6 separate regions of the Homo sapiens genome follow, and regions 1, 2, 3, 5 and 6 are each linked to region 4. The links are contacts of gene promoters, found by promoter capture Hi-C in human tissues and cell types (Jung and others, 2019). All regions are on one chromosome and are shown on one strand. The core of a region is centred on a gene start or on the middle of the fragment in contact, and the rest is flanking DNA. Distances in the headings are between cores, read along the strand shown.

Evidence for each region. The method cuts DNA at HindIII sites, captures the fragments that hold promoters and counts their contacts. A contact is called where the count stands out against the background at its distance.
Region 1: a contact is called between a fragment that was not itself captured here and the fragment with the promoter of CREB3L3 in region 4, in 2 of the 25 tissues and cell types used here (dorsolateral prefrontal cortex and lymphoblastoid cells).
Region 2: a contact is called between a fragment that was not itself captured here and the fragment with the promoter of CREB3L3 in region 4, in 3 of the 25 tissues and cell types used here (aorta, dorsolateral prefrontal cortex and spleen).
Region 3: the fragment with the promoter of PIP5K1C here is called in contact with the fragment with the promoter of CREB3L3 in region 4 in 2 of the 25 tissues and cell types used here (lymphoblastoid cells and small bowel).
Region 5: a contact is called between the fragment with the promoter of ATCAY here and the fragment with the promoter of CREB3L3 in region 4, in 10 of the 25 tissues and cell types used here (adrenal gland, dorsolateral prefrontal cortex, hippocampus and 7 more).
Region 6: the fragment with the promoter of PLIN5 here is called in contact with the fragment with the promoter of CREB3L3 in region 4 in 2 of the 25 tissues and cell types used here (dorsolateral prefrontal cortex and spleen).

Annotation. Positions count from the first base shown.
Region 1 is chr19:3,746,903-3,751,228 of GRCh38, reverse strand. TJP3 (tight junction protein 3) reads right to left here. Exons shown (of 21, transcript NM_001267560.2): 19 at 3,148-3,435; 20 at 1,045-1,091; 21 at 416-647. The coding sequence ends at 545. APBA3 (amyloid beta precursor protein binding family A member 3) reads left to right here. Exons shown (of 11, transcript NM_004886.4): 10 at 1-40; 11 at 132-457. The coding sequence ends at 203. Among named protein-coding and RNA genes, the nearest start is that of APBA3, 13 kb to the left of the region's middle. The HindIII fragment of the contact is 8,254 bases long and covers 1-4,326 here.
Region 2 is chr19:4,414,194-4,418,405 of GRCh38, reverse strand. It overlaps CHAF1A (chromatin assembly factor 1 subunit A), which reads right to left. Exons shown (of 15, transcript NM_005483.3): 4 at 330-386. Among named protein-coding and RNA genes, the nearest start is that of CHAF1A, 14 kb to the right of the region's middle. The HindIII fragment of the contact is 3,051 bases long and covers 680-3,730 here.
Region 3 is chr19:3,698,659-3,703,051 of GRCh38, reverse strand. PIP5K1C (phosphatidylinositol-4-phosphate 5-kinase type 1 gamma) reads left to right here and starts at 2,584. Exons shown (of 18, transcript NM_012398.3): 1 at 2,584-2,755. The coding sequence starts at 2,662. RefSeq lists silencers at 2,336-2,825, 2,906-3,045 and an enhancer at 2,744-3,527. The HindIII fragment of the contact is 9,003 bases long and covers 1-4,393 here.
Region 4 is chr19:4,151,172-4,155,523 of GRCh38, reverse strand. CREB3L3 (cAMP responsive element binding protein 3 like 3) reads right to left here and starts at 1,893. Exons shown (of 10, transcript NM_032607.3): 1 at 1,750-1,893; 2 at 497-625. The coding sequence starts at 1,776. The HindIII fragment of the contact is 37,156 bases long and covers 1-4,352 here.
Region 5 is chr19:3,878,108-3,882,302 of GRCh38, reverse strand. ATCAY (ATCAY kinesin light chain interacting caytaxin) reads right to left here and starts at 1,618. Exons shown (of 13, transcript NM_033064.5): 1 at 1,295-1,618. RefSeq lists an enhancer at 1,413-1,943. The HindIII fragment of the contact is 15,458 bases long and covers 1-4,195 here.
Region 6 is chr19:4,533,974-4,538,384 of GRCh38, reverse strand. It overlaps PLIN5 (perilipin 5), which reads left to right and starts at 3,161. Exons shown (of 8, transcript NM_001013706.3): 1 at 3,161-3,220; 2 at 4,290-4,370. The coding sequence starts at 4,311. It overlaps LRG1 (leucine rich alpha-2-glycoprotein 1), which reads left to right. Exons shown (of 2, transcript NM_052972.3): 2 at 1-1,983. The coding sequence ends at 445. RefSeq lists an enhancer at 3,455-4,010. The HindIII fragment of the contact is 58,476 bases long and covers 1-4,411 here.

The DNA of each region.
Region 1 (4,326 bases), core at 1,827-4,326, 410 kb after region 4:
CGCCCGCATCATCGAGCTGCTCACCGAGGCCTATGGCGAGGTGTGCGGGTGGTGGGTGGTGGCCAGGGGCGCCCCCACGTCCCCCACGAGCCCAGGCCTGCCCTGAGCCCCGTTCCGCCTCCACTCCCCAGGTGCATATCAAGACGATGCCAGCTGCCACATATCGCCTCCTTACAGGCCAGGAGCAGCCCGTGTACCTGTGACCACCTCATCCCTTGCCTGCCACTGTGCCTTCGCCTCCATGGCCCCGGAGCCCCATCCTGGGCCTGCCCTGGCTGGCCAGGACCCCAGCGGTTCTTGGTCCTGTATGATTTCCTAATATAAAAACAGTAAAAGCTTATGCATTTGGCAAAGTCTCGGATCAGGGTCTACGGGACCGAGGACCTTGTCCTTCCTGGAAGCCACTAGAAGCCGGTGCTGTGAAAATACTCTGTTTATTAAAGACCAGGCGGAGGGAGGTAAGGTTGTGGGTTCTGTATGGGAAACTGAGTCCCAGCCCCAGGGAGGGAGAAGGAGGACGGACCAGCTGGCAGCCTTCGAGAGGTCACAGGTCAGTGGCCGGACCCCAGTCATAGCCGTCTTCATCGGAGGACTCCGCATCATGTACTCGCATAAACTTTTTCTTCAGGGCTTCCCGTTCATAGGTTCTGGGGATCAGGAAATAGAATAGATGCTGTGGGTGGGAAGGGTGTGAGCTTTCTCACCATAAACTGAGGCTGGCTGTGCTAGGCACAGTGGGTGTGGGCAGAGATAAGCACATCTGGGCATTCATGGGTAGGGCCTTGTTAACAAACTCCTATGCATCCCTCAAAGCCCCAGCTGCAATATCCTGCCCTTCAAGAAGCCTTCCTAGGCCTCCCAGGAAGTGGATTCCTACTCCCTTGGCCCTGATTATATGGGGCTTAGAGAGGCTCTGGCAGGCTCTGTCTTCCCCACTAGGCTAGGGGCACCATGAAGGCATAGCTTGGATCTAGATCTGAGTCCGCAGAGTCTGAGTCCCAAGGGAAGGGTTGAGGGCCCCAATCTGGAATATGGGGTTCTTACCGCATGCTGTCCTGTCGCCACTGTCCCTGGGGGTGGCGGCTGTCCACCTTGGAGGAGAGGGAGAGAGGAGCTTCAAAACTCCCCCCAGAGCATGGTGAGTCGAGATCAATAACCACCTCCATCCCATCCCCCACCTTGGCCCGGGCCATGCTGCCCACTTGCTAACCCCGTGACAAGTCTGCAGGTCATCCCCAAATCTAAATGAGAAAACTGAGGCTGGGATAGGGGAAGGCCTTAGCTGAGACCTCCTAGCCTGTCAGCAAAAGGGGAATTGGGTTTCTCATCTGTGCAAGTCCTCACAGGGCCACAGCCATGAGTTCATGTACGTAAAGGACTTAGTACAGTGGCTGCTCCGTATGCAGCCTGCCATGGACAGTTGAGCAGGTTGGGTACTGCACAACCCCAGGAAAATCACTCTAATCAGAGATGTCATTGATTCATAGATTTTTACATTGACCTAGAGAGGGTGTGGAAGAAGATGCTGAGGCATATACACTAAGAGCTACATACACATTTGTTACTGTTAAACACCCAACTACAGCTGGGCGCTGTGGTTCACGCCTGTACTCCCAGCACTTTGAGATGCCAAGGCAGGAGGATCACTTGAGCCCAGGAGTTAGAGACCAGCCTGGGCAACATAGCAAGACCACATCTCTGCAAAAAATGAAAAAAAATTAGCTGGGTGTGGGTGGTGGTGCGCGCCTGTGGTCCCAGCTACTCCGGAGGCTGAGATGAGAGGCTCCCTTTAGCTCAGGAGTTGGAGGCCGCAACGAACTATGATTGTACTACTGCACTCCAGCCTGGGCAGCAGGGCAAGACCCTATCTCTAAAATTTAAAAAATAAAATATATAAATTAGATAGGTCAAGTTCAAAAAGACACGCAACTACTATGTGCCAAAACTTGGGCTGAGCACATTGAGTGCTCACCACCGCCCTGTGCCACCAAGTCTGATACCATCCACCCTGTGTCCTAGATGAGGAAACAGGTGCACAGAGAGGTTAAAATGTTGGCTGGAGGCCAGGTGCGGTGGCTCACGCCTCTAATCCCAACACTCTGAGAGGCCGACGTGGATCACCTGAGGTCAGGAATCGGAGACCAGCCTGGCCAGCGTGGTGAAACCCTGTCTCTACTAAGAATACCTTAAAAAAAAAAAAAAATTAGCTGGGCATGGTGGTGCTCACCTGTAATCCCAGCTACCTGGGAGTCTGAGGGAGGAGAAACGCTTGAACACAGGAGGCCGAGGTTGCAGTGAGCCCAGATCGTGCCACTGCACTCCAGCCTGGGTGACAGAGCGAGACTCTAACTCAAAAAAAAAAAAAAAAAAAAAAAAAAAAGGCCGGGTGCAGTGGCTCACACCTGTAATCCCAGCACTTTGGGAGGCCGAGGCTGGAGTTCCAGACCAGCCTGACCAACATGGAGAAACCCTGTCTGTACTAAAAATACAAAATCAGCCAGGCATGGTGGTGCACGCCTGTAATCCTAGCTACTCAGGAGGCTGAGACAGGAGAATCGTTTGAACCTGGGAGGCGGAGGTTGTGGTGAGCCGAGATCACGCCATCGCACTCCAGCCTGGGCAACAAAAGCGAAACTCCATCTCAAAAAAAAAAAAAAAAAAGCCTGGGTGCAGTGGCTCATGCCTGTAATCCCAGCACTTTGGGAGGCCAAGGCGGGTGGATTACAAGGTCAGGAGTTCAAGACCAGCCTGACCAATGGTGAAACCCCGTCTCTACTAAAAATACAAAAATTAGCCGGGCATGGTGGCAGGTGCCTGTAATCCCAACTACTCAGGAGGCTGAGGCAGGAGAATCGCTTGAACCTGGGAGGTGGAGGTTGCAGTGAGCCAAGATTGCGCCATTGCACTCCAGCCTAGGCGACAGAGCAAGACTGCGTCTCAAAAAAAAAAAAAAAAAAAAAATGCTGCAAGTTACTCAGTGCCACGTGGGTCTCAGCTACCCCAGGTCTGAGTCCCAGAAACCAGTCTGACCAGGGAAGCCGTGTTTGTTGACGTCCTGGTAGAAAACAGGCTCCCAGTGTGTGTCTGCTCTGTGCTGGCATCCCCTCCGGAGACCCTTCCCAGGCCTGCCCCCCATGTCCGACGCACCTGGGCCCCCTGATGAGCCGAGATTCTCCCACGATCCCTCGGGCTCTGGGACTCATCTGCCTGCACGGGCTCCGAGGACCGGGCCAGGGCTGGAGCCGGGGGCTCATCATCCACATCCGTGTAGGGCCCCCCCTCGCCGTCTGTGTAGCCCTCGCCATCCGTGTACGCGCCGCCCTCGCCGTCCGTCTCGTAGTCGCTGTTAACGCGGCTGTCGCAGCTGAGGTCAGCGGAGCTGTCGGCCAGGCCGTGGTGAGGGAGGTCTAGGTTGTCCTCCAAGGAGCCATCCAGCTGTGGGGTGGGTGTGGATGCTGCGGCTGGCCCTGGCCAGGACCCCAGCTGCCACCCACGACATCCCCCCACCTTCAAACTCTGGTCCCAAATCAAGGCGAGGAGCCTGGAGCCTGGAGCCTCAGTGGAGGCTTCTCTGTTGACTCCAGGATGGGTTGTATCCATTGACCCTTCACCTGAGAGGCTCAGCCCCCAAATCCAAGCTGAGCCCCAAACCTTGACTCCAGCCCCAAGAGAAGACTCCATTCTCTCTCTCTTTTTTATGAGAAGGAGTCTCTGTTGCCAGGCTGGAGTGCTGTGGCGCAATCTCTGCTCACTGCAACCTCTGCCTCCCGGGTTCAAGTGATTCTCCTGCCTCAGCCTCCTGAGTAGCTGGGACCATGGGCGTGAGCTCCCGTGCCCCACTGACTCCATTCTCAAAACAGCTCCTCCAGGCTGGGCGCGGTGGCTCAGGCCTGTAATCCCAGCACTTTGGGAAGCTGAGGCAGGTGGATCGCCTGAGGTCAGGAGTTTGAGCCCAGCCTGGCCAACATGGTGAAACCTCGTCTCTGCTAAAAATACAAAAATTAGCTGGGCCTGGTAGCGCTCGCCTGTAGTCCCAGCTACTCGGGAGGCTGAGGCAGGAGAATCACTTGAACCCGGGAGGCGGAGGTTGCAGCAAGCTGAGATCACACCACTGTACTCCAGCCTGGGTGACATGAGACTCCATCTCAAATCAAACAACAAAAAACAGCTCCTCCAATCTCATCTCACCCAAGTTCCAGTCCAACACCCTTGTCTCAGGTCCCATCTTGACTCTGGCCACAGTCCTGATCCCTGACCAAGCCCTAACTCCCGACAGAGGCCCCAAACCCCAGCTGGGCCTGCACAGCGTCTGTGGGGCCTCCCTGC
Region 2 (4,212 bases), core at 956-3,455, 260 kb before region 4:
CAGGACTACAAGGAAATGGACTGGGTTTTTGGAAGGTAATTTGAAGCTACAATGGGATACTGAACCATTAAGACAGTGGTAGCACTATTGATAAAAGCTTAGAAAAGGCCACACACAAAACCTTAGGACTCACTCAGCAAGCCAAAAAATGACACAATCCACAAACCATGAAGTCCAAGTACTTAAAATGAAGCAGGAATCAAAATGATGGTCAGAGAAGGCTGGGGAAAATGTAAAAACTAGACCAAAGGAACTTCAAAGGGCTTTGCTTACTATTTAATGCAAAAAGCACAGCAGGTTAATTTTCTATTTCAGGGAAAATGTCTTACTCTTTGCAGTCTGAGCTTGTTCTTCTCTGTAGAGCCTTTGACGAATTTCTTAGTTATCTGAAAACAGAAGACGTTTATCTTTAAACACGGGTTATTTCAATTGCTTCGAGAAAAAGAGAAACCTTTCCAGGTGATCAGTTTTTCCACCAACAGAACCAAAATGTCATAATAGGGTCACAAACTCCAGTAAGTGTGCATACATGTGTGTATCTGGGATTAGATAACAAGAGAGACTACGGAGGCAGATAAAGAAATGAGTGAAGGACACCAAGCACAAGAAAAACAAGGCAAGCTCAGAAATAAAGGCAACAGACAAGGCTGGGCGCGGTGGCTAACGCCTGTAATTCCAGCACTTTGGGAGGCCGAGGCAGACAGATCACCTGAGGTCAGGAGTTCGAGACCAGCCTGGCCAACGTGGCAAAACCCCATCTCTACTAAAAATACAAAAATTAGCCGAGCGTGGTGGCAGGTGCCTGTAATCCCACCTACTCAGGAGGCTGAGGCAGAAGAATCGCTTGAACCCAGGAGAAGGAGGTTGCAGTGAGCCGAGATTGCGCCACCATACTCCTGCCTGGGCAACAGGGTGAGACTCTGTCTTAAAAAAAAAAAAAAAAAAAAAGCGACAGCTGGCCTGGGCGACAGGGAGAGGATGGATTTGTAGCAAAGGAGAGAGGACCTGCCTGTCCAAAGGAGATGGAGTTCTTACAGGAATATAGATCCCTATTTGCTGGTCCTTCCAATTTCTCCAAGAGAAGCTGATATTAGGAATTTCATATGAATTTTTTTAGGTGTTTAAAAATGGACACAGACGGGCACAGTGGCTCATGCCTGTAATCCCAGCACTTTGGGAGGTCAAGGCGGGAGGATCACTTGAGCCCAGGAGTTCAAGACCAGCCTGGGCAATAAAGCAAGACCCTGTCTCTAAAAAAAGCTTTTAGTTAGTCGGGTGTTGTGGTGCACATCTGTAGTCCTAGCTACCCAGGAGTCTGGGGTGGGAGGAGCCCGGGAGGTTGAGGCTGCACTGAGCTGTCCAACCTGGGTGACAGAGTGAGACTGTCTAAAAAAAAAATAAAAAGATACTAAATTAATCAAATAAAACATGTCTCCAGGCTGGTTTCCTGTGCACCACTAATTTACATTCTGTCTAGCTCAACTCTGCTTTTTATTTTAATGTTATTTTTGAGATGGAGTCTTACTCCTGTCACAGAGGCTGGAGTGCAGCGAGTGCCACGATCTCGGCTCACTGCAACCTCTACCTCCCAAGTTCAAGCGATTCTCCTGCCTCAGCTTCTTGAGTAGCTGGGATTATAGGCGTGTGCCACCACACCTGGCTAATTTTTGTATTTTTAGTGGAGATAGGGGTTTCATCATGTTGGCCAGGCTGGTCTCGAACTCCTGACCTCAGGTGATCCACCCGCCTCGCCTCCCAAAGTGCTAGGAATTCAGGCGTGAGCCACCGCGCCCAGCCAACTCTGCTTTTTAGAATGTGGAGTGAAAGCTTAAGACAAAAGGGAAACTTGCTGGGGTTTTCTAGGACTTCTACCTTCTAGGGCACAATATTTTCTATCACCTACCTTCAAACTGAGCATGAGCTACTAGGAATTACCAATAGGATCCATGGTGTGACTCACCATCCACCTAAATGGTCCCAGGAAGGAAGACGAACAGGGAGTCTGGACTTTGGCCTAAGCTATCTCCCACCGGGGCAGGGAATCCTGAAAACCAAACTAGTAGAAGTGAAGAGCAATGGGAAGAGACGCTTAAGAGTGGGAAGAAATAGTTCTCCGGGTTCATTGCAGACTTGCAGTGTAAGACTGAAGTTGACTGAAAAACCAAAGGCCCATTTTCCTGGCAATGGTCTGAGGGGTCAACAAAATTATGTAAGTGATTTCTTTTTTTTTTTGAGACGGAGTCTCGCTCTGTCGCCCAGGCTGGAGTGCAGTGGCGCCATCTCGGATCACTGCAAGCTCCGCCTCCCGGGTTCAAGCGATTCTCCTGCCTCAGTCTGCCCAGTAGCTGGGACTATAGGTGCCCACCACCATGCCTGGGTAATTTTTTTGTATTTTTAGTAGAGATGGGGTTTCACCATGTTAGCCAGGATGGTCTCGATCTCCTGACCTCGTGATCCGCCCGCCTCGGCCTCCCAAAGTGCTGGGATTAAAGGCGTGAGCCACCGCGCCCGGCCAACAGTGATTTCTTTATCTGGGAAAGCTGAACCCCTGACTAGGACCTCTCACAGAATAAAAGCTTCAGATGAATGAGCTCAAGACAGCCTTTCCACCTGGGTCCCACTGAGTCCTTTCTGGACTAAACCTTTCTTTAGGGAAAGGCCGAGCCGTTGTGAGAAGGCTGCCCGTGTTGGCAGGAGCTCTTTCACCACCGAGATCAGGCCAGGGTGTTCAGTCTTTGCTGAGAATGTGGCAACAGAAATGCCAGCCCGAGGCAGCCTCACCAAATGCTGCAGAAAAAGCATCTGTCTCTCCAGCATCTACTCTGCCTGCCAAGGCTGTGTGCCTCTCCCCCACGCTGAGGGATTTAACTGCAGAATATGGGAGCCGCAGCTCTCCGGGGCTGCCCTTTGTGTTCAGAGATTATAATACGGAATGTGGTCTTGGGGTGGCGGGGAATTCAGTTCCTTAGTCTTGCCCATGCCTGAAGCTCAGCTGCAGAATCTCCTGCCTCTTACAATGCCCCCCCTCTGCTGTGAGTCCAGAGATAACAGACTTGATGTGACTGGCAAGAGCCCGCTCAGTAATATCCAACAACCAAAACAGAGCAATTACTGCTTAATTTAAAACTGGTATCTTTTTTGCTTTGCCAAACCCTCAGATGGACCTTGAAGTCTGACAGAACTTTATCTTCTTGAAATTTGACCCAAGTGTTTATAGATCTCACTCTCAAAATTCTATGCAACACTCCCACATTCTACCCAGCTGGAGCCCGGTCAGACAGCACCCTCAACTGCCAAAAACGTGATCCAGGATCCCAGAAGGAAGCCAAAACACAAAAACCGACAATCCCAAGGAGTCGCGACAGAGCTCACTATGTGTGGGCATGAAAATTCCTGCACCCTTTCTCAGATAATCCTCTCAGAGCCTATGGACTCTGATTTTATACTAAAGGGTATCTAATTTCTAAGCCCAGACCAGATAAGCCGCTAAAACCTGACAGCAGGGGAGCGGAGGCAGGGGGGAAAAGAGAAAACCTCCAATTGGCCCAAGCATGAGAGAGTGCAAGCTGGGAAAATAAGAACGCACGCATTGCCTTGAGCTACCAAGACCTCATTCTCCTTAACAGCCCAAGGCCACTTGTAGAAGGAAGCTCAAGGGAACAATCATTTTGTGAAAGCCAAGCACAGAAACAGCAGAACTGAGAAAACAGCTCTGTAACCTACAGCATGTCCACACCATGGGATATCACGCAGCTGTTAAAAAGAGCTCCATCTTTCCATCCCAATATAAAAAACATCTAAGACACCCTTGAGTAACAAAGACAGATATTTACAGTATATGTCATACACAAGGAAACAAAATGATACTGGGTGTTTCCTAGAGATCTCTCTGGATATACAGGACACAGAAAAACACAAGGTGATGATGATGATAATAATGGCAACCTCCTGGGAGAACAGAGGGCTTCAAGGTTTCCATTCTTTTTCCTTTTTGTTTTTTTTTTTTTTTGAGACGGTCTGGCTGTTGCCCAGGCTGGAGCACAGTGGTGCAATCATGACTCACCGCAACCTCTGCCTCCTTGGCTCAAGTGATCCTTCCACCTCAGCCTCCCAAGGAGCTGGGACTACAGGTGTGCACCCCCATGCCCCGCTATTTTTTGTATTTTTTGTACAGACGGAGTTTCACCATGTTGGTCAAGCTGGTTTCGAACT
Region 3 (4,393 bases), core at 1,335-3,834, 450 kb after region 4:
TGGAACCACACAGAATTTGTCTTTTTGTTTTTTTTGTTTGTTTTTTTTTTTTGCGGGGACAGACGGGGTCTTTCTCTGTTGCCCAGGCCAGAGTGCAGTGGTGCGATCATAGCTCACTGCAGCCTTGAGTTCCCGGGCTCAAGCAGTCCTCCCACCTTAGCCTACTAAGTAGCTGGCTAATTAAAAAACAATTTTTTTTGTAAAGATGAGGGGTCTCACTACACCTAGCTAATTAAAAAAATTTTTTTTGTAGAGATGAGAGGGCTCACTATGTTACCCAGGCTGGTCTAGAACTCCTGAGCTCAAGTAATCCTCCTGCCTTGGCCTCCCAAAGTGCTGGAATTACAGGCGGGAGCCTCTGTGCCCACCCCAAACATTATTTATGTGCATAGGTAATATAATCATTATGATTTACATTTATGTAAATAATATAAACGTTATTACTTAAATTAACATAAACAACATAAGCCTTATTATGTGCTTATATAAAGAACATAAATATGGCCGGGCGCAGTGGCTCACACCTGTAATCCCAGCACTTTGGGAAGCTGAGGCGGGAAGATCACGAGGTCAGGCGTTCAAGACCAGCCTGGCCAACATGGCGAAACCTCATCTCTACTAAAAATACAAAAATTAGCCGGGCGTGGTGGCACGTACCTGTAGTCCTAGTTACTTGGGAGGGTGAGGCAGGAGAATCACTTGAACCCTGGAGGCAGAGGTTGCAGTGAGCTCAGATCGCCCCCCTGCACTCCAGCCTGGGCAACAACAGCAAGACTCCATCTCAAAAAAAAAAAAGAAGGATATAAATATTGCTACTTACATTTGCATAAATATATATAATTTATTATGTATTTCTATAATTATATGTTTCTTATAATAGCAAACTGTATTATTATTGATAAAATAATATAAAGAAAACAATAACATATCTATACTTACGTAATACAAACGATGGAATATAAATATTATTTGCAATATGATAATAAACAGGTAGTTAATTGCAAATGTTATTGATATGTATTGCGTAGATCAATGTTAATAACATGTATTGTGTAGATCTATATATATATATATTTTTTTTTGATATGGAGTCTCGCTCTGTTGCCCAGGCTGGAGTGCAGTGACACGATCTCAGCTCACTGCAAGCTCTGCCTCCCAGGTTCACCCTATTCTCCTGCCTTAGCCTCCCAAGTAGCTGGGACTACAGGCGCCCGCCACCACGCCTGGCTAATTTTTTGTATTTTTAGTAGAGACGGGGTTTCACCATGTTAACCAGGATGGTCTCAATCTCCTGACCTCGTGATCCGCCCGCCTCGGCCTCCCAAAGTCTTGGGATTACAGGCATGAGCCACCGCGCCCGGCCCTGTGTAGATCAATATTATTTACATGTACTGTGTATATCACTGTTATTGGTATATTTTGTGCATATCAATGTTATTGACATGTAGTGTGTATATCAATGTTATTGACATGTAGTGTGTACATTAATGTTATTGGCATGTAGTGTGTATATCAATGTTATTGGCATGTAGTGTGTATATCCATGTTATTGGCATGTAGTGTGTATATCAATGTTATTGACATGTAGTGTGTGTATCAATGTTAGTTACATGTATTGTGTAGATCAATGTTATTGGTATTCATTGTGTATAGCAATGTGATTGGCATGTATTGCATATAGCAATGCTATTTGTATGTTTTATGTAGATCCATGTCAATGATATAGTATAGATTCATGTTATTGGCATGTATTGTGTATATCCATGTTATTGGCATGTATTGTGCATATCCGTGTTATTGGCATGTATTGTGTATATCCATGTTATTGGCATGCATTGGGTAACTCCATGTTATTGGCATGTGCTGTGTAGGTCCATGTGTGGTTTTTTTTGGGACAGAGTCTCACTCTGTGGCCCAGGCTGGAGGGCAATGGTGCGATCTCAGCTCACTGCAACCTCTCCCTCCTGGGTTCCAGCGATTCTCCTGCCTCAGCCTCCCGAGTAGCCGCGATTACAGGCATGTGCCACCACGCCCAGCTATTTTTTGTATTTTTAGTAGAGACAGGATTTCACCATGTTGGTCAGGATGGTCTTGAACTCCTGACCTCAGGTGATCCGCCCTCTTCGGCCTCCCAAAGTGCCGGGAATATAGGCGTGAGTCACCGCGCCCGGCCAGATCCATGTTATTGTCATGCGCTGTGCAGGTCCCTGTTATTGGCATGTGCTGTTTAGATCCATGTTATTGGCATGTGCTGTGTACATCCATATTATTGGCACGTGCTGTATAGATCCATATTATTGTCATGTGTTGTGTAGATCCATGTTATTGGTATGTGTTGTGCACAGCAATGTTATTGATACGTATCGTGCCTGTCAATCTTACTGACCTAATACGATGGAATGGCGAGCCTGGCTCTGTACTCCCACCCCTGGGCGCGAGGGGGCACTCGAGGCGCTCCTGGCTGCGGGTCGCAAGCAGGCCCCGCCCCCGAGCCCCGATTGGCCGCGCGCCGTCCGCGGCGTCGCACGCACGCAGGCCCCGCCCCGTCCGCCCCGCGCCGGCCCGGCGCGCCCTCCCTTGGCCGGCGGCGCTTGTTGTTCGGCGGCGGCGGTCGCAGCTCGGGTCCCCCTCGGGCGCCCCCGCCGCCGTCCGCGCGCGGCCATGGAGCTGGAGGTACCGGACGAGGCGGAGAGCGCTGAGGCGGGGGCCGTGCCCTCGGAGGCGGCGTGGGCGGCAGAGAGCGGGGCGGCGGCAGGTAACGGCCCGGCCTCCCGGGGCTGCGGCCCGCTGGGCTCGTCCGAGCGCCGAGAGTCGCGGGGCTGCGGGGCCGGGGCGGGGGCTGCACGGTCGCTGCGGGGGCGCCGCCGGTTCCAGGAGCCTGGGGCGGGGCAGTCCCCTGGAGCCGCGGGGAGGACGGGGCTGAAGCCGCGCCGGGAAGCGGGAGGCCTGCGAGGGGCTACCTCCCACCGCTCCCGGGCCGGGGGCGACTCGGCGTGGGCGCCGCTGGGGATCCCCGTTCTGCCTGACCCGCTCCCAGGGGCTGCCCGTCGTGTGAGTGGCGGCTGCTTGGGTGGAGGCGGGGGTCTCTGAGGCCGTGCGTGCCCACCTCCTGATGTCACCTCCCTTTCTGTAAGTCCCCAGACCTGAGTCCGGGTGCGCGACCTTTCCTCACCTTCCTGGGCCTCAGTTTACCTCCCTGCTAAAATGAGGGGAGGAAAAGGGTTACATCTCAAGATGCCTCCACCGCCCCGGCTGTGCACACAGGGTGCCCTGTCGCCCCCTTTTCCTCTCCCCGAGCCTTCCCCCAGGACACACTGGTGGGGCTGCGGGCTGGGCGGGGGGCACGGCTGTCTCATGCCCCCTTTAGCTGCTTCCTGGACCTCCAGCCGGGTAGGTGGCGGCAGCTGGGCCTTCCCTTCTGTGGGGACGGTGTGCAGAGCCCAGAGGAAGGGAACAGTTCCTTCTCAGTCGAGGTCACAAGCTCCCAAATCGGAAGTTTCCGGATTCACAAAATCCTCTGCTCCTCCCAGGCAGCCAGCAGCAGCGTCTCTGTAGACACCCACACGGGCATCCGTCCTCCTTCTCCCCCCAGGCCTCCCGAAGCTTCCTTGGTTGGCAGGCGGGCAAGCGGGCGGGCGGGCGATGCGTGCTGCCTGGGAGTTGGGGAGATGTCTGGAGAGAGAGAGAGTGTGGAAGTCATCAAGTCCCCCCCCCACCCCCCGCCTTGAAAGACACTCGTGGCTTCCCTCCCGGCGGCCATCTGGAACCGCTTGGTAGGTGACCCGGTTCCTTCCCCAGAGCCAGTGGCCTCGCCCCTTTCTTTGCGGGCAGCCGGTGTCCTGGCCTGGCCAGCAAGAGACATGGTGGAGGAACCCAGGCAGGGCACCAGGCCCCAGCCCGGGTTCCTTTCTTGGGCCCCCCAACTTCCGCTGTCAGCCCTCTGACCCCAGCTGGTCAGAGACAAAGTAGCCCAGGACTCGCTGACCAAAAGAAAACCACACCGCGACCATTCATCTTATCAGGGGCTCTGGGAGCACCGGGGACAGATAAAGTTGCCAGCTCCAGACTGAGCATGGTGGTGGGGTGGGAGAGCGGGGGAGTGGGGGGGTGGGGGTGGGGGGCCGGGGAGGGCTGGAAGGTCAGGGTCTGGCATCTCTGCCCATCCCTGAAATCCACAGAAATCTGACCCCAGCTGGCCATATACTGCTTCTGAATGTTTAAAATTCAGAGTTGCCTCACTCCTCCAACGCCATCCCTCCTGATGTTAGCGCTGGTGAGTTTAGGTTGTGCCTGGCTGGGCCACAGAGACGTGAGCACATAAAGGGGCCTGCTTGTTCTTCACCGAGATGGTTTCATGCCTCACTGGGGCTTCTGTGCCTTGGCAGAGGTATTT
Region 4 (4,352 bases), core at 644-3,143:
AGCCAGGTGCAGTGGCGGGCGCCTGTAATCCCAGCTACTTGGGAGGCTGAGGCAAGAGAATCGCTTGAACCCGGGAGGCAGAGGTTGCAGTGAGCCGAGATGGCACCACTGCACTCCAGCCTGGGCAACAGAGCGAGACTCCTTCAAAAAAAAAAAAAAGAAGAAGAAAGAGAGAAAGGAAGGAGAGGAAGGAGAAGAGAACCGAACCTAGCCAGGGAGATGCCCCAAGTTTGAGTTTGAACCTAACTCCAAATTGCTGTGTGACTTTGGATGAGTTTCCACCCTGCTCTGGGCCTCCATTCCCCACCTGTAAGAAGGAGCTGATGCTACCCGCTAAATGATGTGCTTGGCTAAAATCAAGCACCGTGACCCATTAGTGCATCGTAGAGCTGAGCAGAGCTCTGGCTGGGCTCTGGCGGGTCTAGCACCTTCGTGGGGCCTCAGTTGGCCCGCCTGGAGCTCTGTGGTCCCGGGGCAACTGCAGTGGACTCCTCACCTGGTCCTTGACGTGACCCCAGCCCTCGCCCAGCTCCACGTGTCTCAGGATGCCGTCCTGCCGGTCAAACAGGAGATCCAGGAGCTCAAAGCTGTCGATGGGGTCCATGGAGCAGGCAGCAGAAGCCATCTGGGGCGCGAGGAACAGATGTGAGGGTCACATACAGCCCCTGTCCTCCCCACCTCCCATGTGCACATAACCCTGGCTCTTTCCGGCTAGAGTTCAGTTGCCGCTCTGCCTCCGGGTTGGGCCAGCTGCTGCCCCTCGCTGAGACTCCCTTTCCAAATCTGGACTTTGAGGCTGATAGAGAGAATTCCACAGTGTGAGAGCCAATTTCTCTTAAAGTGCTGGAGAGGCTGGATGTGGTGGCTCATGCCTGTAATCTCAGCACTTTGGGAGGCCGGGGCAGGAGGATCACTTGAGCCCAGGAGTTCAAGACCAGCCTGCGCAACATAGAGACCCCTATCCCTACTGCAAATAATTTAAAAAAATTAGCTGGCTGCGGTGGCACACACTTGTCGTCCCAGCTACTGGGGAGGCTGAGGTAGGAGGATCCCTTGAACCCAGGAGGTTGAGGCTGCAGTGAGCTATGGCCACCCCACTGCACTCCACCCTGGGTCACAGAGCAAGACCTTGTTTCAAAAAACAAAAAAGTATGGCAGGCACGGTGGCTCACATCTGTAATCCCAGCACTCTGGGAAGCCGAGGCGGGCAGCTCACCTGAAGTCAGGAGTTTGAGACCAGCCTAGCCAACATGGTGAAACCCTGTCTCTAGGAAAAGTACAAAAATTAGCCGGGCGTGGTGGTGCACACCTGTAATCCCAACTACTTGGGAGGCTGAGGCAGGAAGATCTCTTGAACCCAGGAGGTGGAAGTTGCAGTGAGCTGAGATCGTGCCATTGCACTCTAGCCTGGGTGACAGAGGGAGACTCCATCTCAAAAAATAAAAATAAAAATAAAATAAAATAAAATAAAAAGTGCTGGAGAGAGGCCCTAGCTAGAGATGCCGCTTGCCTCTCAGGCCTTCACAGCCTCCCCAAGTGCCCGCTCCTAGGAGGCAGGGGGACCTGGAAGAAAGACAAGGGCAGCCCCGGGGCAAAGGCACACAGTTTTGCTCATTGCATCCTTTCTCTGGGCCTCAGTCTTCCCATCTGTACAATAGGGGTGGAGATGGGGTCCTTCCAGCTCTGGCAGCTTGGGTAGGCTTTCCCAGCCTAGACTCCCGCTCTCCCTGGGGACCTAGTAGGGCTCACCTTTCCAGCAGCTAAATCCGTATTCATGGGTCCATCCAGTTCTGTCTGCAGATGCCTCGGGGGGTCTCTGCTCCAAGCTGGAGGCCCACCCACCGCCAGCGTTACCTGGGGCCGGGCAAGCTCACAGCCCTCTGTGGCTCTGTCACCACTCCCAAAAGATGCTGAAGCGGTCACAGGCAGCTCCCAGCCCACCTCCAGGTGCTGATTGGTGGACAGGGTGGAGAGACAGGGTTGAGGGCCAGTGACACTGGGGCAGGCAGGAGCAGGGGAGGGAAGACCGTTATCTGGGTGTTTTGTGGTTTTCCAGCCCTCAGTGAGCAAAGGTCGAAGTCTGGGGTACCTCCACTCTGCCGTGACCTCTGCCCTACTTATGAGGACTTTTTCTTTTTTTCTTTCTTTTTTGAGACGGAGTCTCGCTCTGTGGCCCAAGCTGGAGTGCAGTGGTGCCATCTCATTTCGGCTCACTGCAACCTCTGCCTCTTGGGTTCAAGTGATTCTCCTGCCTCAGCCTCCCGAGTAGCTGGGACTACAGGTCCCCATCACCATGCCCGGCTAACTTTTGTATTTTTAGTAGAGACGAGGTTTCATCATGTTTTCCAGGCTGGTCTCGAACTCCTGACCTCGTGATCGGCCCCTCAGTCTCCCAAAGTGCGGGGATTACAGGCGTGAGCCACCGCACCCGGCCAGTTACAGGACTTTTTCTCTTCAGAATTCCCAGATGGGTTCTGGGATAGCCCAGGGCCCTTACATGGGTCCTGTCCACTCCCTGGACAGAAACAAACCAAGAGGACCAGACCAGATCTTCACTGAAGCCAGTTTTCCTGCCAGCAGCTAGCGGCTCCCATCCTTCACCCCACCTGCCAACCTCCGGCCCCCAGCCCCCTCCGAAACCAGCTTGGACTCCGCCTCTGAGTCCCCATGGGTGATTCTGTGCAATCAATTCTCTCTAGAATCTTCTATCGTTCATTGAGTCAACAAATATTTATGGAGCCAAACTGGTTCCTGCTTAGGGCCTTTGCACCTACTCACCTGCTCGCCCCTCTGCCTGGAACTCTCCTCTTGTACCCTCCCTCTTCCCCTCTGGCTCTAGGTCACTGTATTGACATTTTAGTGAATGTTCGATATTTGTGAATCAGCCCGGGTGGCTGAGAGGTGTCTCTGACCTCCCCTCCACCCCCTACCAAGAGAGAGGAGCCCTGTTTTGTTTTTTTGTTTTTTTTTTTGGTGTTGGTGGAGGACAGGGTCTCACTCTATTGCCCAGGCTGGAGTGCAGTGGCAGGATCATAGCTCACTGCAGCCTCCAACTCCTGGGTTCAAGTGATCCTCCCGTCTCAGCCTCCCAAGTAGCTAGGACTGCAGGCGTGCACCACCACACCTGGCTAATTTTGTTTTTTTTTTTTTATAGAGATGGGGTCTTACTGTGTTGGCCAGTATGGTCTCAAACTCCTGGGCTCAAATGATCCACCTGCTTCAGCCTCCCAAAGTGCTGGATTTACAGGCATGAGCCACTGTGCCCAGGCAAAGTCCCCCTTTAGCAGATGACATATTAGACCAAGCGTGGTGGCTCACATCTGTAATGCCAGCACTTTGGGAGGCCGAGGTGGGTGGATCACCTGAGGTCAAGAGTTTGAGACCAACCTGGCCAACATGGTGAAACCCCATCTGTACTAAAAATATAAAAATTAGATGGGTGTGGTAGCACATGCCTGCAATACCAGTACTCGGGAGGCCGAAGCAGGAGAATCACTTGAACCCAGGAGGCGGAGGTTGCAGTGAGCTGAGATCACACCACTGCACTCCAACCTGGGCGACAGTGAGACTCTGTCTCAAAAAAAAAAAAAATGACATGTTCAGTGCAGTCCTGAAGGATGAGATGGAACTGGCCCTGGGAAGGTCTGGGGAAAGGTGTCCCAGGCAGAGGCACAGTTTGTGCAAAGGCCCTGAGGCAGGTCCGTGCCTAGCGCATTGGAGGAACAGCAATGAGACCCCTGTGGCTGGAGCAGAGTGAGGAGAGGAAGACAGGCAGGAGAGGAAGACAGGGAGGAGGGGAAGGCAGGGAGGAGGGGAAGGCAGGGAGGGGACGGGGCAGGTCGTGCAAAGCCCTGTGTGTTGTGGCAAGGAGTTTGGTTTGTGCTAAACAGCAGGGCACTGTTGGAAGTTTAGCAAATAGGAGACTAAATCAAGCTTTCTGTTTGCTGGACACTGTGCCATGTGCTAGGTTGAGAGGGGTAATTTATGTGCCCTCCTTGCTCTAAAAAAATTCACATCCTGGTTCCCTTCCCCTTCCTTCCTTCCTTTCCTTCCTTCCTTCCTTCCTTCTCTCCCTCCCTCCCTCCCTCCTTCCTTCCTTCTTTCCTCTCTCTTTTTTTCTCTTTTCTCTCTCTATCTTTCTTTCTCTCTTTCTTTCTTTCTTTCTCAAGACAGAGTCTCGCTCTGTCGCCCAGGCTGGAGTGCAGTAGCACAATCTCAGCTCACTGCAACCTCCACTTCCCAGGTTCAGGCGATTCTCCTGCCTCAGCCTCCTGAGTAGCTGGCATTACAGGCTCCCACCACCACACCCAGCTAATTTTTGTATTTTTGGTGGAGATGGGGTTTCACCATGT
Region 5 (4,195 bases), core at 369-2,868, 270 kb after region 4:
CAGTGGCTCACACGTGTAATCCCAGCACTTTGCGAGGATCGCCTGAGCACAGGAGGTTAAGACCAGCCCGGGCAAGATAGCAAGACCCTGTCTCAAAAAAACCAAATACATGAAGCATCTAAGGCCCCCAACTCTCATGGCATCCAGGCTGCCTCTCTGTGGAGTAGGTTACCTGCAGCCCCCCAGCATAGATATCGGGTTTGCATCGGGGACAGGGGACTGTGGCTTAGCAAGGAAGGACCCAGAGGCAGCCTCAGCCAGATGAGGAAGTGGGGGGAGGGGACGGCTAAAACTAGACCCTCCCCCGTACAGGGTGAGCGTTTCTCACTCGATTCTCTGTCCTCAATGTCGTCATTCATGCTTGGAGGAGGGACAGTAACACGCAGCATGGAAAAAAAAAAAATCCCTCCTGGATGCTATGGGGTCGGGGGGGGGGCGGTGGCAGCAGCCAGCCAGGCCCTTCCCGCGAGGGTAAGTTCTCCTCGGCAGTAGAAACGCATTTGCTCTCCGGAGGAAGGGGTCTTCGCCTCTCCCTTCCTTATACTGAGCTGGGTGTGACCTCAGCCCCCAGGAACACTCCCACCAGCCCCGCCCCCGACCCCCACCCCCTGCCAGCTGCAGCCACAGGCGTTGACTCCACAGTCTTCTAAGGATGGGGTGGGGTGGGTCCTCAGTGGGCCCCGGACACTCCTGCACTCAGATCCTGGCTTCGCATTTGGGGACGGCCAAAAGAAGACAGTGACATCAAGGAACGGGAGTGAAGCGCTCATTTGAGCCCTGATGTCTGATTATTAACAAATCACATACGAGTTCCAATAAGGAGGAGGCATCTGTGTCTTAAACCATAAACCACCCCCTTCCTCCCCACCCCACAGGACAGCCTTTATCGACACACTTAGATTTTTTTTTTTTTTTTTTCCCGAAATCGTCGGCTGGTGGCCTTCCTAGCGTTATAAATAGGAAATACATAGGGCTAGGATGGGTCTATTTCAGCGTCCCAGAGAGAAGCTGAGGTTTTCATCCGCCCGAGCTCTCAGCGTGTCCTGAAAATGGTGCACTTAGAGGGGAACGGTGCGCGCGGAAGGTAAACTGTGTTGCTGGGCGCAGCTCAGGGAACGGTTTTCCCTGGTACCGGGAACAGGGATGTGAGGGCCTTCACGGAGTCACAAGACCGTGGCTCTCTGCTCCCACCCGCCCCATCTGCTGGAAAGGGATTTAGAGGCGGCAAAGGCTGCCGGATAAACCTTCCAGGGAGACGGTTTATCCTGGGAGAAGGGGAGATGCGCGCACTCACCTCTGCAGCTGAGACAGCCTCTCCTCCTTACTGGCAAACAAAGGCGAGCCCTGCCCGGGTGCAGCTGGGCATCGCTCACGCTCCCCGGGCCTTCAGAGCCTAGGAGGAAGAGGATGCTCGCAGGGGCGGATTCTGCATCCGAGGAAGGTCACCCAGGGCGACGTGGCCAGCGCCCGCCAGCTCTTTTGTGCAGGGGTGGGTGGGGTGCAGGGTTAGCGGTGGGCTCCCCAGCGCGGGGCTGCGGCTGCGCCCCCTCTCATCGCCGCCCGCCTGCGCGCCCTGCCTCCGAGGTAGCTGCTTCTTCCCAGCTCAGGGCTGGCAGAGGCTCGGCTTCCCGAAGACGGTTAATTTATGCTGCTTTTGTGTGCAGGGAGGAGGGGGTGGGGGGTGGCGGCCTGACGGAAAAGCACAGCCCCCTGCCAGAATCCGATCCTCCCCATTGGCTGACAGACAAGCATCTCCGAAAGCCACGCCAGGGGCAGAGGCAGAAATAATTTTCTGATGGCGCATCAGAGATTTAAAAACAAAACAACGGACAAATAAATAAATAAATGGCAAGATGGCCTCATTCCTTAGAGAATGGGGGGTGGGGGAGTTGGGAAAGGTCTTCTTGGCACTTCTCCTTGCAAAGGGAGCAGGGGTGAGGGGTGGCATCCCCCAAAAAGTCTGTGCAGGCAAAGAAATGACTGTCCCCAGGTCGGATGCCATGGCTCACGCCTGTAATCCCAGCACTTTCGGAGGCCGAGGAGGGAGGATCACCTGAAGTCAGGAGTTCGATACCAGCCTGGCCAACATGGTGAAACCCCGTTTCTACTGAAAATACAAAAATTAGCCAGGCGTGGTGGCGTGCGCCTGTAATCCCAGCTACTCGGGAGGCTGAGGCAGGAGAATCGCTTGAACCTGGGAGGCGGAGGTTGCAGTGAGCCGAGATGGCGCCACTGCACTGCAGCCTGGGCGGCAGAGGGAGACTCTGTCTCAAAGAAAAAAAAAAAAAAAGAAAGAAATGACTGTCCCCAGGTCACCGTGTTGTGGGTCCATTAGATGGTCACTTACCATTGATTCAGCCTCGTGCCCTAAACAGGGCTGGGTGCAGGGGAGGCGGAAGTTTCTCAGGCACACTCACTTTGCAGGGCTGCTGTGGGAACGGCGCCCCCTGCAGTTGTGCGCTGGCGTGGCCTCGCCCTGGAGGAATTCAAGGAGACTGTGGAAGATGGTAGGGTGGAGAGTGCAGGCCGTGCAGTCGGACTGGAAGTGGGTTTGAACTCTAGCCCAGCCACTCCCCAGCTGGCAGACCAGTGGGCATGAGTGATCTCACCTGCGGGCCTCAGTTTTTCTCATCTGTGAAATGGAGCCGCTATGGCTTTTCCACATTATGAGATAATGCATAGACAGCACTAAACACAGTGCTGGGGCACAAGAAAAGCTCCCTATGTGTTTCTTTCTCTTTCTTTCTTTCTTTCTTTCTTTCTTTCTTTCTTTCTTTCTTTCTTTCTTTCTTTCTTTTTTTTTTTTTTTTAGGTGGAGTCTCGCTCTGTTGCCAGGCTGGAGTACAGTGGTGCGATCTTGGCTCACTGCAACCTCCGACTCCCAGGTTCAAGTGGTTCTCCTCCCTCAGCCTCCCAAGTAGCTGGGATTACAGGCACACACCACCACACCTGGCTAATTTTTTTTTTGTATTTTTAGTAGAGGCGGGGTTTCAACATGTTGGCCAGGCTGGTCTCGAACTCCTGACTTCAGGTGATCCGCCCACCTTGGCCTCCCAAAGTGCTGGGATTAGAGGTGCGAATCACTGTGCTCGGCCTATATGTATTTCTTGCTATTGCTGTTTTTAATGTTTATTTTATTTACTTATTTTTTTAAGAAACAGGAGTTTTCCCTGTCATCCAGGCTGGAGTGCAATGGCACAATCACAGCTCGCTGCAGTCTTGAACTCCCGGGCTCAGGTGATCCTTACACCTCTTTCTCTCCAGTGGTTGAGACTACAGGCTCCTACCACCACGCCCTGCTAATCTGTGTAATTTTTGTAGAAATAGGGTATCTCTCTATTGCCCAGGCTGGTCTTGAATTCTTGGGCTCAAGTGAGCCTCTCATCTCAGCCTCGAAAAATGTTGGGATTATAGGTGTGAGCCACCGTGCCTGACCCACAGCACTTACTATTAATTGAAATTATTTACACTTTTTTGTTGTTGTTGTTGATTCTCTGCTCCTCCTTATTAGAATATACTGGGTTTTGTTTTGTTTTGTTTTGTTTTGAGACAGAGACTTGCTCTGTTTCCCAGGCTGGAGTGCAGTGGTGTGATCTCAGCTCACCGCAACCTCCTCCTCCTCTCAGGTTCAAGCGATTCTCATGCCTCAGCCTCCCAAGCATCTGGGACTACAGGCATGCACCACCACACCCAGCTATTTTTTTTATTTTTGGTAGAAACGGGGTTTCACCATGTTGGCCAGGCTGGTCTTAAACTCCTGACCTCAGGCAACCTGCCCACCTTGGCCTCCCAAAGTGTTGGGATTACAGGCGTGAGCCACCGCACCTGGCCAGAATATACATTTTCGAAGAGCAGAGGCTCGGTTGTTCTTATGCACCACACGTTCTCCGCACAAGGTAGCAACTCCTGGTCCAAAGCTGTTCAGGAGACGCAGGCAGAGTGCATGAAGGCTGGCTCCCTTCATGACATTCAATGACACCCCACCTAGGCTGGCAGCCTCACCCGCTGCATGGAGGTCTGCACTCTTCCGAGGCATAAAGGTAACCTGCCCACAGCAGAGGCAGAAAGCCCTGATGGGGAAGCAGAGGCCCCAGAGACTTTAGCACAAGGTTGGGACTTCCCATCTCCTGGCTGGAGAAAATGGAGGTCTTGTAAGAGACACTTGTGTTAACTGAGGGGTGGATTCGATGAGTCC
Region 6 (4,411 bases), core at 1,912-4,411, 380 kb before region 4:
GGAGACCTTGCCACCTGACCTCCTGAGGGGTCCGCTGCAATTAGAACGGCTACATCTAGAAGGCAACAAATTGCAAGTACTGGGAAAAGATCTCCTCTTGCCGCAGCCGGACCTGCGCTACCTCTTCCTGAACGGCAACAAGCTGGCCAGGGTGGCAGCCGGTGCCTTCCAGGGCCTGCGGCAGCTGGACATGCTGGACCTCTCCAATAACTCACTGGCCAGCGTGCCCGAGGGGCTCTGGGCATCCCTAGGGCAGCCAAACTGGGACATGCGGGATGGCTTCGACATCTCCGGCAACCCCTGGATCTGTGACCAGAACCTGAGCGACCTCTATCGTTGGCTTCAGGCCCAAAAAGACAAGATGTTTTCCCAGAATGACACGCGCTGTGCTGGGCCTGAAGCCGTGAAGGGCCAGACGCTCCTGGCAGTGGCCAAGTCCCAGTGAGACCAGGGGCTTGGGTTGAGGGTGGGGGGTCTGGTAGAACACTGCAACCCGCTTAACAAATAATCCTGCCTTTGGCCGGGTGCGGGGGCTCACGCCTGTAATCCCAGCACTTTGGGAGGCCCAGGTGGGCGGATCACGAGGTCAGGAGATCGAGACCATCTTGGCTAACATGGTGAAACCCTGTCTCTACTAAAAATATAAAAAATTAGCCAGGCGTGGTGGTGGGCACCTGTAGTCCCAGCAACTCGGGAGGCTGAGGCAGGAGAATGGCGTGAACTTGGGAGGCGGAGCTTGCGGTGAGCCAAGATCGTGCCACTGCACTCTAGCCTGGGCGACAGAGCAAGACTGTCTCAAAAAAATTAAAATTAAAATTAAAAACAAATAATCCTGCCTTTTACAGGTGAAACTCGGGGCTGTCCATAGCGGCTGGGACCCCGTTTCATCCATCCATGCTTCCTAGAACACACGATGGGCTTTCCTTACCCATGCCCAAGGTGTGCCCTCCGTCTGGAATGCCGTTCCCTGTTTCCCAGATCTCTTGAACTCTGGGTTCTCCCAGCCCCTTGTCCTTCCTTCCAGCTGAGCCCTGGCCACACTGGGGCTGCCTTTCTCTGACTCTGTCTTCCCCAAGTCAGGGGGCTCTCTGAGTGCAGGGTCTGATGCTGAGTCCCACTTAGCTTGGGGTCAGAACCAAGGGGTTTAATAAATAACCCTTGAAAACTGGATCGGATGAATTGGCTTTCATTGTGTTCCTAGCATCTTCTCAAATCAACTTCCCAGGACTCCAGGGTGAAGGAGGAAAAGAGGCATGGCCCAGGCCCTGGGGTGTGGGATATGGTCTCCCTAGGGGATGACAGTTGGGATCAATGGCCTGTGACTTCTCCTCTCCCTTCCCCCATCCTGGGACCTAACTGGAAATAAAACCTTGACTGTTGCCCGGGTGTCATTTTACCAGTGGATTTCTGCCAGGGCTTGTGTCCTAGGAGAAGGTTTAAGTTAAACCAGATTGCCCAGGTCTCCAAACGATTTGTCATGCTGACCTGAGATCATCGAAGGGGGCACCTGCCCCCGGGCAAGGTTGCAGGGGCAGGATGGGGCTGAAGGGATGAGCAGGGTCCCGGGCCCACCTGCTGATACAGCATTGGCCATGTGGGGGCTGCAATCGGATTTGGAAGACCCTGGGGCTTGGGGGCATGTCCAGTTTTCCCAGCTCCCTAAAAAATGACCATGCAGCCTGGCGCCGTGGCTCATGCCTGTAATCCAAACACTTTGGGAGGCTGAGGCAGGCAGATCACCGGAGGTCAGGAGTTCGAGACCAGACTGGCCAACATGGCAAAACCCTGTCTCTACTAAAAATACAAAAATTAGCCAGGCACAGTGGCACGTGCCTGTAATACCAGCTACTTGGGAGGGTCAGGCAGGAGAATCACTTGAACCTGGGAGGCGGAGGTTGCAGTGAGCCAAGATCACGCCACTGCACTCCAGGCTGGGCGACAGAGTGAAACTGTGTCTCAAAAATAAAAATAAAAATAAAAAGACCATGCCTACATCTGTGGTCATTCCAGGCAAGGCAATGAAAAGGCAGGGTTCTGAGGTCCAGCAGGGCTGGGTTTGAATAGGATCCCTGGCCGGGCACGGTGGCTCATGCCTGTAATCCTAGTACTTTGGGAGGCCAAGGCAGGCAAATCACGAGGTCAGGAGTCCAAGACCAGCCTGACGAATATGGTGACACCCCGTCTCTACTAAAAATACAAAAATTAGCTAGGTGTGGTGGCAGGCGCCTGTAATCCCAGCTACTCCGGAGGCCGAGGCAGGAGAATCACTTGAACCCAGGGGGCGGAGGTTGCAGTGTGTCAAGATCGCGCCACTGCACTCCAGCCTGGGCGACAGAGTCAGACTCTGTCTCAAAAAAAAAAAAAGAAAAAAAAGGAATAGGATCCCTCACTTGCTGTGGTATGCGGGGCAAGTGTTTTATGATCTCTGAGCCTCAGCTTGCTCATCTGTGAAATGGGGATCCTAGGGAAAGGGAAGGCCTGGCTTCTGGCTTAGTTAAGGGGCAGATTAAGAAATAAAAAGAGGCTGGGTGCAATGGCTCACACCTGTAATCCCAGCAATTTGGAAGGCTGAGGTGGAAGGATCACTTGGGGCTCAGGGGTTGAAGACAAGCCTGGTCAACACAGGGACATCTCGTCTCTACAAAAAGTTTAAAAAGTTAGCTGGGGGTGGTGGTGTGTGCCTGTGGTCCCAGCTACTTAGGAGACTGAGGCGGGAGGATCACCTCAGCCTGGGAGGGCAAGGCTGCAGTGAGCTATGATCACACCACTGCACTCTAGCCCTGGGCAACCGAGCAAGACCCAGTCTCAAAAATCGATAAATAATAATAATTAATAAGAAAAGTCATCAGCGAGTTGGCCAAGGTCACTCAGCAGGGCTATGGGGGCTGTGATCGCATGGACTGTCTCTATGGCAACAGCAGTGAGGATGACAGGTGGCCAAACTTGGTCCGGGAACGTATAATAGCTCAATCTTTTGAATCTAGCGCTCCCGAATTACTATGGCAACCGTAGGGCACTGGGCCAGCTCAAGGAGAGGGCGAGGGAAGCCTGGAGCCACGCCCCCTGGGCACGCCCCCGCACGGCCTCTCCCCATTGGTCAGTTCCGGAGGCCCCCACTGCGCGAGCAGCTATAAGAAGGGCGGGCGGGACCGGCGGGGGTGTGGAGACTCGAGCCTGGGGTCGGCGGAGACAGCTGGTGTCTGAAGCCGCTCGCGCCCAGGTGAGTGCCCTGAGGGCGGCGTCCGGGAGCGCCCCCCCGGGCTTAGGAGAGGAGCTCCAGATAGGGTGGTTGGGCGAAGGTCCGGCGGCGTGGGACGGGTATGACCGGCCAGAGCAGGTGGCTGGGACCCTTGGCCCGGTTGGCCCCAGCTCAGGACCCAGTTGGGCGAGGACCAGGCCTCAGAGGACGCGGGGTGGCAACCGGAGGGATCGCAGGCGGCAGGTCTGAGGCCCGAGGTCGAGCTCCCCCCCTGTAACTCTAGCTGGCTGCGTGACCTTGGGACCAGCATGGACCTGCTGCGTACCTCAGTTGCCCTGTCTGTCAAATGAGCTGTGAGTGGACTGGGACCCAGCAGCTACCACCTCCAGCCGTCTAGGGTGCTTGGGCAGTTCTGGGCCCAGGCAGGGGCCGCAGGGGTAGCAGGGACCTCCCACATCTTACAAAACAGGAAGCAGCCCAGAGAGGTGAAGGTGCTTGCCAAAAATCACACAGCTGGCCAGGTGCAGTGTCTCATGCCTGTAATCCCAGCACTTTGGGAGGCCGAGGTGGGCAGATCACTTGAGCCCAGGAGTTTGAGACCAGCCTGGGCAACATGGCGAAACCCGGTTTCTACTAAAAATACAAAAATTAGCCGAGCATGGTGGCACGTGGGTAATCCCAGCTAACTGGGAGGCTGAAGCAGGAGAATCACTTGAACCTGGGAGGCGGAAATTGCAGTGAGCTGGGATGGCGCCACTGCTCTCCAGCCTGGGCGAGAGAGATTCTGTCTTTAAAAAAATAATAAAAATAACACCGCAATTAATGGTAGCATTTGAACCCAGGTCTTTCTCACCTCAGAGACCATGCTTCGAGTCACTCCGGCAACCCTACCTTGCCAGAGGCTCATTATTGGACACCCTCTGTGTACAGAGCTCTGGACATGCATTGTCTGAGCTCCACAGAATGCCCCATTATGCAGATGAAGAAACTGAGGCCCCAAGAGGTTTGAGAGTTGCTCAAGTCACAGAGCCCAATTTGACAGGATCTGATGCCTGGGCAGGTGCTCCCCTTACTCAATCCTGCCCCGCAGGGTGACCCTGTTTGCAGCACGATGTCTGAAGAAGAGGCGGCTCAGATCCCCAGATCCAGTGTGTGGGAGCAGGACCAGCAGGTGAGGGCTGCCCCTCCCATGGAGCAGGGACAGAAGGTATT